Regions from separate parts of the Homo sapiens genome. Here all the other regions are linked to region 3. Evidence: promoter capture Hi-C in 16 types of primary human blood cells and fetal thymus (Javierre and others, 2016). All regions are on one chromosome and are shown on one strand. The core of a region is centred on a gene start or on the middle of the fragment in contact, and the rest is flanking DNA. Distances in the headings are between cores, read along the strand shown.

Region 1 (2,888 bases), core at 385-2,884, 200 kb before region 3:
GCAGCTGGAGGAAGGGGAGGGGCTTTGTCTGCTGCTGGCTGAATTGGACGAGGCAAAGGACTAAACTGCTGCCGAGAAGGATGGCAGCTGAGGGACCAAAAGAAAGGGGCCCACATTAAGGCAGGCTCTGGGTAGTGTCAGTGCCAGGTTAATCCTGGAATCAAGAGGATTCCTAGACTAAGCTGGTAAAAAGAAGAAAAAAAGGTGAAAGTCTACCTGGCCATTGAAAGGGGGATATCCTGGGTTCAATCCTTGTGCCTGACACAGAGAAATACCTCAGAGATAGTGTCTGGAATCGAGGGAGAGAGGCTCTGTCCATGTATGTGAACTACAGCCCTGTGGCCAGAATAAGGCTTTGTGGCTCAGAAACTGAGTCTGTAGGCTGTGACACTGGACATGTAGGGCCACATTTGGAGCCCTGAGAAGCAGCTCAGGTGCTAAGAGGCACATGAGGGCCTGGAAGAAATAGGATTTTATGAATCATGGACACCCCCTGAAAGTCACATTTAGTATAATTTACTATCCAAACACATGGCCAGGCCTGGGGAAATATTTGTTCTTACCTCTCAGTTATAAAAACCTCAAATACAGAGCTGAGAACTCCAAGGGATAAAACCAGGATATGTAGACATGCTTTCACTGAAAGGGTTCATGTGTGATTTCAGCAGGATAAGCACAAAGCTTACACTGACTACTGCACTCCAAAAAAAAGGATGCATTCCGTGTAAGAAGAGAATTCCCTGGACTAACGTTCCCACTTAGCCTTCACCATTGGAGATCTGCAATCTCCCTGATATCCTCCTAGATCTGAGGATGGAAGGAAATGAGACAAACCCAAATGACACCATTGTATTCTCTGGTGTCTGTTCTTTAAATGGCATGTCACAGGTTTCAAGAATCCATGGAGGTTGCGATTCGTCTTTGTGTAGTGCAAAGATGTGTGGATGAAAAGATGGCTCTGCTCTGCCTCTCATTGCCACTATTAGCAACAGCCAGTCTCTAGCTCTGATCATTGAGCACTAGCTAATTCGGAAGCATGCCCTGGTACTGTGAAAGTTAGCCTTCTGCAGAAGAGGCAGGTTGGTTTTCAGATCTTGCCAAAGGAAGGTTGGATATGGGGTCTCTTAATAGAGTCTTTGGGTCTTGCAATATGCTTACAGTTAGGGGTTTCTACTGAAGGGTGTATGGGGAAAAACTCTCTTTCTAACTGCATTTTCCCTCTACTCTGACACCACCACAACAACAATCATCAACACAGAAGACTTCCCAACACAGAATGTGTGGAGTTTTTCCCTACACACCAAGCAGCAGACTCCAGCTGGGTGTCCTCCAATTCAGTTCTGATGCTACCTACCCAGAGATAGTGTCAGATCTGGCCTGTTGGGGGCTCAGTCCCCAACATTGCTCCCCACACCCCCCAGACACCAGTCGCAAGTCTGGGCCTCTGAAACTTCTGACAAACTGGCTTCAAGTTGAGGTTCCCAAAACTCCTTCTTGGAGTTCGATTAATTGGCTGAAAGGATTCACAGAACTCAAGGAAATAATTACTTACACTTACCACTTTATTATAAAGGGGATTACAAGGGATACAGATGAAGACACATGTAGGGCAAGGTATGGGGAAAGGGGTATGGAGCCTACCTGGTGCCCTGGGTTCAAGAACCTCCACATGTTCAGCTATCTGGAAGCTCACTGAACCCTGGTCCTCTTGGGTTTTTAAGAAGGCTTCATGACATCAGCATTCCTTCCCCTGAGGTATAAGGAAGGACCCTCTCTTGGGAGGGGCTTAAGGCCCACAATCAGAAAGGCAGGGAACATTAGAGTCCTGCCTTAGGCAAGGTGAAAGGAGGGCAGGAGAAGGTCCAGGGCTGCCCCTGAGACCTCACACACCTAACAGTGTAACGAAAGACTGGAACAAGGGCTATGGGAGTAATGAGCCAGGAACTGTGGCTGTAAACCAATATGTGTGTGTGTGTGTGTATGTGTGTGTGTGTGTAAGGAAGGGAGTGAAACTCAAGGAAGAAAAGCCTGATCACATCTGCTGGCTCTTGATTAAGTGGAAGGGAGTGAGTTCTGGAAACTTCTTCAATCACCTATCATTGCTCTTAGCCAATCATAGACCACACTTGTGAAATCTAAGTTGAGGAAAAACCCACAGAAGGGAAACATTCCTATATAAAATTTTTTCCCTGATGTTTAAACTACCTTAAAACTAAATTCCATAGTGTTTAAGCCACCTTAAAACTAAAAATTAAATGAATATTTATTGAGTCTCTACTATATGCCAAGTACTGTGCCACTTCCTAGAGACAAGCAGTCAACAAAAACAGATGCAGTTTCTATCTTCCTGGAGCTAATGCTCTTATGAGAAGACCTAGTGCGTGAGCAATTGATAAATAATAGCATCTCTCATAGATGCCTGCAGAAAAGCAACGTGGTGCTTGGAGAGCATAACAGAGAGGGGTTTAGCTGAGTCCCAGAGACCATGGAACAGTTCCTTTAAAAATGAAGAACTGAACTGAAATTTAAAGAATGGCTAAGAGTGAACTCAGCAATGGATCAGGGTCAGGATAATATAAGCAAAAGAACAAGCTTCACTAAAGCCAGTGAGATCAGAGAGAGCTAGACAAGTGTAGTGGGAAATAACTTGGATCAGTGACTCAAAACCTAAAAATGTATCAATGCTGGGGCTTCAGGCACTGTGATAGACAGAGGGAGAAATTTTAAGGACAGGTGACGATTGTGTTGTCCTCAAATTGTGCTACATGTGAAGCCAACTACATGATATGCTCATGAGTCCACCCCACCCCGCAAGTCCTCCCTGGACTCAGCCTTTCAATCAGAATAATGAGATGATCACTGTAGCTCAGAGGAACGAAGTATAATTC
Region 2 (3,175 bases), core at 284-2,783, 240 kb before region 3:
ATAGGCATGAGCAAAGACTTTGTGTCTAAAACACCAAAACCTATGGCAACAAAAGCCAAAATAGACAAATGGGATCTAATTAAACTAAAGAGCTTCTGCACAGCAAAAGAAACTACCATCAGAGTGAACAGGCAACCTACAGAATGGGAGAAAATTTTTGCAATCTATCCATCTGACAAAGAGCTAATATCCAGAATCTACAAAGAACTTAAACAAATTTACAAGAAAAAATCAAACAACCCCATCAAAAAATGGGTAAAGGTTATGAACAGACATTTCTCAAAAGAAGACATTTATGCAGCCAACAGACATTTGAAAAAAAAGCTCATCATCGCTGGTCATTAGAGAAATGCAACTCAAAACCACAATGAGATACCATCTCACACCAGTTAGAATGGCAATCATTAAAAAGTCAGGAAACAACAGATGCTGGAGAGGTTGTGGAAAAATAGGAACGCTTTTACACTGTTGGTGGGAGTGTAAATTAGTTCAACCATTGTGGAAGACAGTGTGGTGATTCTTCAAGGATCTAGAACTAGAAATACCATTTGACCCAGCCATCCCATTACTGGGCATATACCCTAAGGATTATAAATCATTCTGTGATAAAGACACATGCACACATATGCTTATTTCAGCACTATTCACAATAGCAAAGACTTAGAACCAACCGAAATGTCCATCAATGATAGACTGGATTAAGAAAATGTGGCACATATACACCATGGAATACTATGCAGCCATTAAAAAAGGATGAGCTCATGTCCTTTGTAGGAACATGGATGAAGCTGGAAACCATCATTCTCAGCAAGCTATCAAAAGATCAGAAAACACCACATGTTCTCACTCATAAGTGGGAGTTGAACAGTGAGAACACACGGACACAGGGAGGGGGAACATCACACACCAGAGCCTGTGGCGTGGTCAGGGCCTATGGGAGGGATAACATTAGGAAAAATATCTAATGTAGGTGACTGGCTGCTGGGTGCAGCAAACCACCAAGGCACATGTATACCTATGTAACAAAACTGCATGTTCTGCACATGTAACCCAGAACCTTAAAGTATAATAATAATAAAAAAGAATAATGTGTATTATGCCATTGCTGGGTAGAGTGTTCTACAGATGTCAGGTCTAGTTGCTTTATAGTGTTGTTCAAATCTTCTAATTTTTGTTGATCTTTCTACTTTGGATAAACCATTATTGAAAGTAGGGTACTGTCAGCTCTGGGCAATAAGTTTCTGCAAAATAAATAAATAAAAAAATAGGGTTCTGAAGTCTTCAACTGTTATGGTTGAACTGTCTATTTCTTTTCTCAAGTGTGTCAGTTTTTGCTTCATGTATTTTGGGGCTCTGTTGCTAGGTGCATATATATTTGTAATTGTTATATTTTCTTAATAGATTGACCTCTCTTTGTCTCTAGTAACAATTTTTATTTTAAAGTCAATTTTGTCTGATATTGGTAAAGCCACTTGTCTCTTTTGGTTACTGTTTGTATCATTTATCTTTTGTCATCTTTTTACTTTTAACATATTTGTGTCTTTGAATCCAAAATAAGTGTCTTTTGGGCAGCATAAAATATGTATTTTTCTTAAAATTCATTTATTTCTGACTTTTAATTGAAGAGTTTAACCCATTTACATTTAATGTAGCTACTGATAAAGTAGGATTTATGCCTGCCATTTTGCTATTTGTTTTCTATATGCCTTAATCTTTGTTCCTCTCTTCATTACTGCTTTCTTTTGTGTTAAATAGATGTTTTCTTGTGGTGTACAATTTTAATTCAATTATGATTTCCTTTTTCTTTTCTTTTTTTTCTTTTCTTTTTCCTGAGACAGGGTCTTGCTCTGTCACTCAAGCTGGAGTGCAGTGGCACAATCACAGCTTACTGCAGCCTCGAACTCCTGATCTCAATTGATCCTCCCACCTCAGTCTCCTGAGTAGCTGGGAATACAGGTGTATGCCATCACAGCCGGCTAATTTTTTGTATTTTTTGTAGAGACAGGGTTTCACCATGTCGCCCATGCTGGTCTCAAACTCCGGGCCTCAAGTGATCTGCCCGCCTTGGCCTCCTAAAGTGCTGGAATTGTTATTTCTTTTACTATATATATTTTAGTTGTTTTCTTAGTGGTTGCCTATGAATTAACATTAATATCTTAATTTATAACAACCTTGTCCAAACACTCAGTTTCAATAGTATACAAGAAATTTGCTTCTATCTCTATGTCCCCCTCCTCCTTTATGCTGTTATTGTTACAGATTACATTTTCATACATTGTGTGCCCATCAACATAAATTTATAATTATTGCATTATGTAGTTGTCTTTTAAATCAGATGGAGGAAAATGAGTTACATGCAAAATATACATTTATACTATCTTTTACATTTACCTCTGTAGTTACCTTTATTGGTGCTCTTCATTATCTCAGGTAGATTTGAGTTATGTGAAGTGTCTTTTTATTTTGAATGACTATTTTTAGATTTCTTGTAGAGCAGGTCTGCTATAAACTACCTCTCTCAGTTTTTATCTGAGAATATCTTAGCTTTTTTTTATTTTTGAAGGATAGTTTGCAGAAGATAAAATTCTTGGTTGACAGTTCCTTCCTCCCTTCCTTCCTTCCTTTCTTCCTTCCTTCCTTCCTTCATCCCTTTCTTTCTTTCTTTCAGAACTTTTTAGTATCATCGTCTTGCCTTCTGTCCTCCCTGGTCTTTTGTAAGAAAGTCACTGCTAATCTTATCAAAGATTCCTGCACAATGTCTTAGCTCAAGCCACTGTAACAAAATACCATTGAGTAAGTGGCTTAAGCAGAACACATCTATTTCTCACAGTTCTGGAAGCTGAGAAGTCTGAGATCAGAGTGCCAGCATGACCAGAGTTTGGTGAGGGCTTTTTTTTTTTTTTTTTTTTTTGCTTGCAGGTGGCCAGCTTCCTGCTGTATTCTCATATGGTGGATAGCGGAAGCTCCAGTGTCTCTTCCTCTTCTCATAACAGCACTAATTCTATCATGGGGTCTCCACTCTCATGACCTCATCTAAACTGTACTATCTCCCAATGGCCCCATCTTCTAATATTCTCACACTGGGGGTGAGGCACACATTCAAACTATAACATATGTGATAAGCCTCTTCTCTTTTGCTTCTTTCAAGATCCCCCTTGGTCTTTGACTTTCAACA
Region 3 (2,960 bases), core at 7-2,506:
GTTTTGCAGGGTTTGTTTGTTTTCAGGGATTTTTTTTGGTAGAATTGCCTTATTTAACTGTTAAATTACTACTTTATTATCGAGTTCAATTTTTGCTTTTTTCCCTCTTCTTCTTTTGTTCTGATTTTAAGATAGTCTCACTCTGTCACCCAGGCTGCAGTCTACAAACACGACTCACTGCAGCCTCAACCTCCTGGGATCAAGCGATCCTCCCACCTTTGCCACCTGTATAACTGGGACCACAGCCATGCACCACCACAACCAGCTAATTAAAATTCTTTTTTAGAGACAGGGGTATCGCTTTCTTGCCCAAGTTGGTCTTGAACTCATGGGCTCAAGTGATCCTCCCATCTAGGCCTCCCAAAGTGCTGGGATTACAGGCGTGAGCCACCATGCCCGGCCTCAGTTTTTTCCATCTACAGGTTGTAGTGCATCGGTGAATGATGAAATCATTTTGATAGGTCAGAACTGGGTTGTTTAAAAATGCAACAGGTGGGGGTGCATCACAGTTCAAAGGAGAAGTGTTGTTTCTCAGTTGTGTGTTGTTTGTACCCAGTTATGTTGTAAAGTGCACTGCTGACTGGGGGTCATGAGTAGAAATTTGAAAAACACTGGACTATAGTTTGCTCTATGATAGAGAAGGGTTTCTTTTAACACCTTCACTGTTTTTAACATATTTATTTTGACTGTATTCACTTGGTATTTGATTGCCTTAGCTAGATGAATCAGGGTAAATAGCCTTTTTCAGATATTTCCCTGCTCTTTCCACTATAAATTTCCTGAACTCATATAGCATGTTTAACCCATACATGTAATAGTAACGTCCTTCAGGGTATACACCATATGAGTAGGTCACATTTAATCTACATTCTAAACTATTGCTGAGCATCGTACTCCATCCTCTGCATCCAAACAGTTGCTCAATAAATACACAGCTTAGCATGGGGAATGAGCCCTCCGTAGCTTTCGAGTTACAAGAGCACCATCTTCTGGCGAAATATTTTCTTTGTAGGGAGAATGTCAAAGACCTACCAAAAATGTCCTGATTTTTCTAGCAAAAATTATAATTACATCACAAATACTTTGAAATTCTGTAGAGCTCCTTGCTTCATTCAGGAGTTTCGCTTCATTTCCCCTCTGAGAAGTGGTCTTTCTGTTCCTTAGCAGTGAAAGCAGTCAGCCTGTCCTTCCTGGTTTTCCGTTAAACTAAGCCGGTTTCAAGTTTCAGCTCCTCCTTGAATTCCAGGCTGCTGAGACTTCCCTCTAGAATCCTCCAACATGGAGCCTCTTGCAGCTTACCCGCTAAAATGTTCCGGGCCCAGAGCAAAGGTATTTGCAGTTTTGCTGTCTATAGTTCTATGCACAGTAACGCTATTTCTTCTACAACTAAAATTCCTCAAACCTAAAATCAACAGCTTTTATGCCTTTGAAGTGAAGGATGCAAAAGGAAGAACTGTTTCTCTGGAAAAGTATAAAGGCAAAGTAAGTTGCATCATCTGATTTTTATTGTTATCATTTTTCCTTGTCTCTGTTTATTCCTCTTAATAAAATCAATTTTTTGCTGTTACATGGTCATAAGTTGGAATTTAGTCTTCAGAGTAATGGTATTAGTACATCACTTTAGTTATTACAGTTCTGATAGTTTGCTTCTAAATAATAAATTCCGATTATCTCGTTTTCTTTAAAATGCTTTAATTTTGTGCTGAATTGACATGTAAAGTTGTTTGGAAAATACTTATAGTTAGTAATGTGAACATGATGACATTTATTAATAAAAGTATTGGTTCTATAATCTAATAACTTTAAAAAGAACTTATCAAGGATCATAGTTTTATCTTTAATTTAAAAATAAACTTTCATGAGTATCTAATGCTTTTTTAATGGCAGTACTATTTCAGGGCCTTAACCCAGGCATCTAGGTTACAGTTTTCAATAGAACTGTGTATGTCCAAAAATATGAAAAAAACATCAATCAGAGGTTATAGTCCCCCCCAAATTGTTTAGGATTTTAACTACTTGCAGAATTTTTTAAAATCTTTTGCTTCACTTTCCGGTTGGATTTTTTTCTTTTTCCGGGAGGTTTCACTAGTTGTAAACGTGGCCAGTGACTGCCAACTCACAGACAGAAATTACTTAGGGCTGAAGGAACTGCACAAAGAGTTTGGACCATCCCACTTCAGCGTGTTGGCTTTTCCCTGCAATCAGTTTGGAGAATCGGAGCCCCGCCCAAGCAAGGAAGTAGAATCTTTTGCAAGAAAAAACTACGGAGTAACTTTCCCCATCTTCCACAAGATTAAGATTCTAGGATCTGAAGGAGAACCTGCATTTAGATTTCTTGTTGGTAAATATCTGCCTTGCATATGCTGTTTTAAATTGCTTTTCATTTTTAAACAATTATACCAGGACAATACTTTCCTATTTCATTTGAAACGTTGTATCGGGAAAGCTTCATAAAACTATCATCAAAGAGCCAGAATCTCATCCTTTGTAACTTCTAGGAGTTATGCTCCCCTGAAATCAATGTTTTAGCTTCTTAGATGGTAAAAGAATTCTATTCCAATATATTTTATTCCTTATTACCATCTTCCTGAAGAATTTACTTAAAGTGTGCCCATGGCTATTTTCACAAAATATCTTAATTCTCCTCTCTTGTAACTAGCATCTGGAGAAATGTCCCTTCCCGTCATTATAGCCACACAGCTCTCATGAATAGTGCTGGGCATTATTAGTTAACATATGTTTGTGGCTAATTTTATGTTGTCTTTCTTATCTGAAACAATATTCTCAAAGATGAATATGTCAGCTTACCAGATTTTTGCTAAAATCCAAAAACATATAACTTGGTTTTTTCAGAGGGCAGTAGTGTTAGGCTATTTCTCCAATTAAGCTAGCTACAGAAATCTGTTTAAAGACTTGCCAAGGTCACTTAGCACAAAGGTCATGAGGCATACAGACAGCAT
Region 4 (2,954 bases), core at 441-2,940, 170 kb before region 3:
GCTTTCCCGTCATCAATTTCCTCAACCCAGCAGCAGCGCTGTCCTCCTGCCAGGCTCTCTTGTTTTGGTTTATGAAATCCAGGATGAAGGCTGGATTAACACGCTGCTGCCATCCAGGAATTGAAAAGCCCAAGCTGATGTCATCTGTTATGTTTAGATGGTTGTTTTGCATGAGGACTGAAAAACTCACTCACATCCGTCTCAAGGGCTCAAGGACGTCTGTGAAGGAGGGATAAAGAAGGTTGCACACCCTCCTTCAGGACGGGAATTGTTCTGACCCTGGCATATCACTTGAGGTGTAGCTTTGTCTCAGAGCCTCTGTAGTCAGGAGGAAAATGATATCAACATGAATCATCAGGACCGAAGAAGCTTCTTCAAAAAAAATAATAAACATTTGGTATTTCCCCTCAACAAATAGCTATGAGATCATTTGAAAGAAGAAAGGGTTATATTGTGTCTTTTCAATACTTAGAAGAAAGAAAATATTTTGATAGGGCTATTTTTTAAGACCCTCTCTTCCTTCCTCTCACCCCTCTCCTCAAATGTTATTTCTAAAGCAATTCATGTTACATATATCTAAGCCTATTGTGGATATAGCTGTGCTTCCAGTACAATGTGGAACTGCCTCTGAGAATTTCTTTTAAAATCAATACAAAAAGCCACAAGAGAGGTAAGATCCTTTCGGCACTGCTTCTGGGTTACTCAATTCTGGAAAAACTTATCAGTTGGACTTCTGATCCAAAACTTCCTCAGGGGAAGGCTCATCCATCACTAAGTCTGCTTGTCCAATGACGGAGTCCACCCAGAGCCCTTCCCCTCACCTCCTGGCATCTATCAGAGCCCTCACTAAAAACTGCCAAGCGCGGCAGCCAGCCCAAGGCAACAAGTGGCTCAGCAGGAAAATCAGAACACAGCCCCCAAGAAACAAGTCACAGGGAAGGGAAACATTACCCCTCAGGAAACAAGGTCTGCATGCTAAGAGGGTTACCGTGCCTAGGTCCCTCTGGGAAAACAGAGTAGCCCTCTTAAAATATCAACTGTGCCAGGGTCTTATTAAGTAAGGTTAAAGAGGAGAGAGGGGAGTTCTTACACCAACCACATGCCGAATTCCATGCCCCCACCTCACTTGTCAAAAGAGATATAGACTCACTGTCACTTAGTAAATAACAACCCAGTAAAGTGGGTAATTCTTGGTCTGTCACAAATGAGCTGTAAGAAATTCACAGGACTTCTCTTGGCCTCAGCTTCCTCTTTTGAGAATTGATGGTGTTAGGCTACCTGACCTCTAAAATTCTTGTTTCCCATAGAAGATGAGGCAGAGCGGGCATTGGATGTAACTTGAAGATCGGCTTTTGCAAATGCAATTTTAGGGGGACACAGGGAGTAAATTCAGAATACAGAGAATTGAGGCAGTAGGAAATGAAAGCAAGAGTTTTAGCTTTCAAATTTTCCAAATTTTTCATGACAATCCAATTTGAAATACTCTATCTCCCCAGAAGCACTTACTTAGCAGGTGGCACACTCTGATGTTTTCAGTAATGGGTAATATTTGTTGAGTTAATAGCTTAAACACTTTACATGCATTAACTCATTTGCACCTCATCACAATATTATGAAGTGGCTGCTATTATCATGCTTATTTTTTAAAAGAAGAAACTGAGTAAGAAAGAGGTTAATTTGCCTAAGGTCCCTATATTGAAGGGATGGATGTTAGTCTAATGTCAGAGCCACATATTCTATTGCCTATTACAATACATAATTGTGCTTTCATGGCCAATAGTTCCAATGGCCTAGGTCGCAATTTAGGCTGACCCTAGAAAATGTCCCTTGTTACTGAACACCACTTTCTGAGGAGTAGTTAACTGGAATAGTGGTTAATAATAATATCTAACCTTTACAGAGATCTGACTGTGTGCCAGATGCCATGCTAAGCAGTTTATGTAGATTACCACATTTAACTTTCAAAACAACCTCAAGAGCTAGGTGCTATTCTTATCCCCATCTTAGATATGAGAAAACTGAGGCCTAGAGAGGGTAAGTAACTTGTCCATCATCACACAGTTAGCAAATGGTGAAGCCAGGACTCCAGCCCTGAGACCAACAAGCTCTGGAGACTGGATTAAGGATTGTAAAATCAAATACATACAGGTGCCAAACAGGTGCCCAAGGTGGGTGACATGGTAAGCTATACTAGATGTAATACAGAAGGAATGGAGTGGATTTCGTCCTCCTGAATAGCACATAAAGACATGAAACTCTTCCACTATGGAAGATAAAGGGAAACCAAATTGATAATACCTTCAGTAAATGACAACTAAACAAATGTAAGTTGAGAGTACCAAATCCAAATAGTAAACCAAACTACAATGCACAGGTAAGTGCAGAAAATATGCCCAATAGAGTTCACCAGTGGTGGAACTATCTCAATACACAGTGCCTAACAACTCATTTTAGGGGAACCTTCAATCCCTCCAAGACCCAACAAAAACCATTTGTCCCAACACAATCCCTGTAAGATTTTTATCTAGTGATTTCTGTCTTCCCCAGAGCCTTGAGCCCAGATCAATGAATTCCATTAGGAAAGTTAGCAATGACCACAAAGGGTTAGGAAATGGGAGCACGAGCAACCAAGGAGCCAACTCTAAGCTGCATTAAAAAGCAATAAGATGATGGCAGAGCTGTTGATAGTGAGTGCATGAGGTCCACCCATTTCACTTGCTTTGTGCTGGGGACTGGAACATCTCTCATCTTGCTCTGCCTGTATATCAGTTGTCAAGTCAGAGTGAGAAAGGGCAAGAGGAATTGCACAAGATTTTCACAACTCCTAAAATGTAAGTTCAAACTAAGGTGGGTCAAACCATACCATCTGTGGATCCAAATGTTGCAGCATATGGTGTTTTGCAATGGGGGCAGAGAAATGATAAAACCAAATATCTATTTAACCCAGTATACCC

What was found. Contacts are between HindIII fragments. The CHiCAGO score rates a contact against its expected background, and 5 or more counts as called.
Region 1: a fragment that was not itself captured here is called in contact with the fragment with the promoter of GPX8 in region 3 in 3 of 17 cell types (activated CD4 T cells, naive CD4 T cells and non-activated CD4 T cells); the score reaches 7.9 in activated CD4 T cells.
Region 2: a contact is called between a fragment that was not itself captured here and the fragment with the promoter of GPX8 in region 3, in 5 of 17 cell types (non-activated CD4 T cells, activated CD4 T cells, naive CD4 T cells and 2 more). The highest score is 7.4, in non-activated CD4 T cells.
Region 4: a contact is called between a fragment that was not itself captured here and the fragment with the promoter of GPX8 in region 3, in 1 of 17 cell types (endothelial precursors). The highest score is 5.2, in endothelial precursors.

What each region holds. Positions count from the first base shown.
Region 1 is chr5:54,960,838-54,963,725 of GRCh38, forward strand. No RefSeq gene overlaps it. Among named protein-coding and RNA genes, the nearest start is that of ESM1, 23 kb to the right of the region's middle. The HindIII fragment of the contact is 1,911 bases long and covers 680-2,590 here.
Region 2 is chr5:54,923,037-54,926,211 of GRCh38, forward strand. No RefSeq gene overlaps it. Among named protein-coding and RNA genes, the nearest start is that of ESM1, 61 kb to the right of the region's middle. The HindIII fragment of the contact is 5,645 bases long and covers 1-3,175 here.
Region 3 is chr5:55,158,915-55,161,874 of GRCh38, forward strand. GPX8 (glutathione peroxidase 8 (putative)) reads left to right here and starts at 1,257. Exons shown (of 3, transcript NM_001008397.4): 1 at 1,257-1,482; 2 at 2,080-2,341. The coding sequence starts at 1,279. All of the region lies in intron 2 of CDC20B (cell division cycle 20B), which reads right to left. The HindIII fragment of the contact is 5,226 bases long and covers 1-2,444 here.
Region 4 is chr5:54,985,643-54,988,596 of GRCh38, forward strand. No RefSeq gene overlaps it. Among named protein-coding and RNA genes, the nearest start is that of ESM1, 1.5 kb to the left of the region's middle. The HindIII fragment of the contact is 2,647 bases long and covers 368-2,954 here.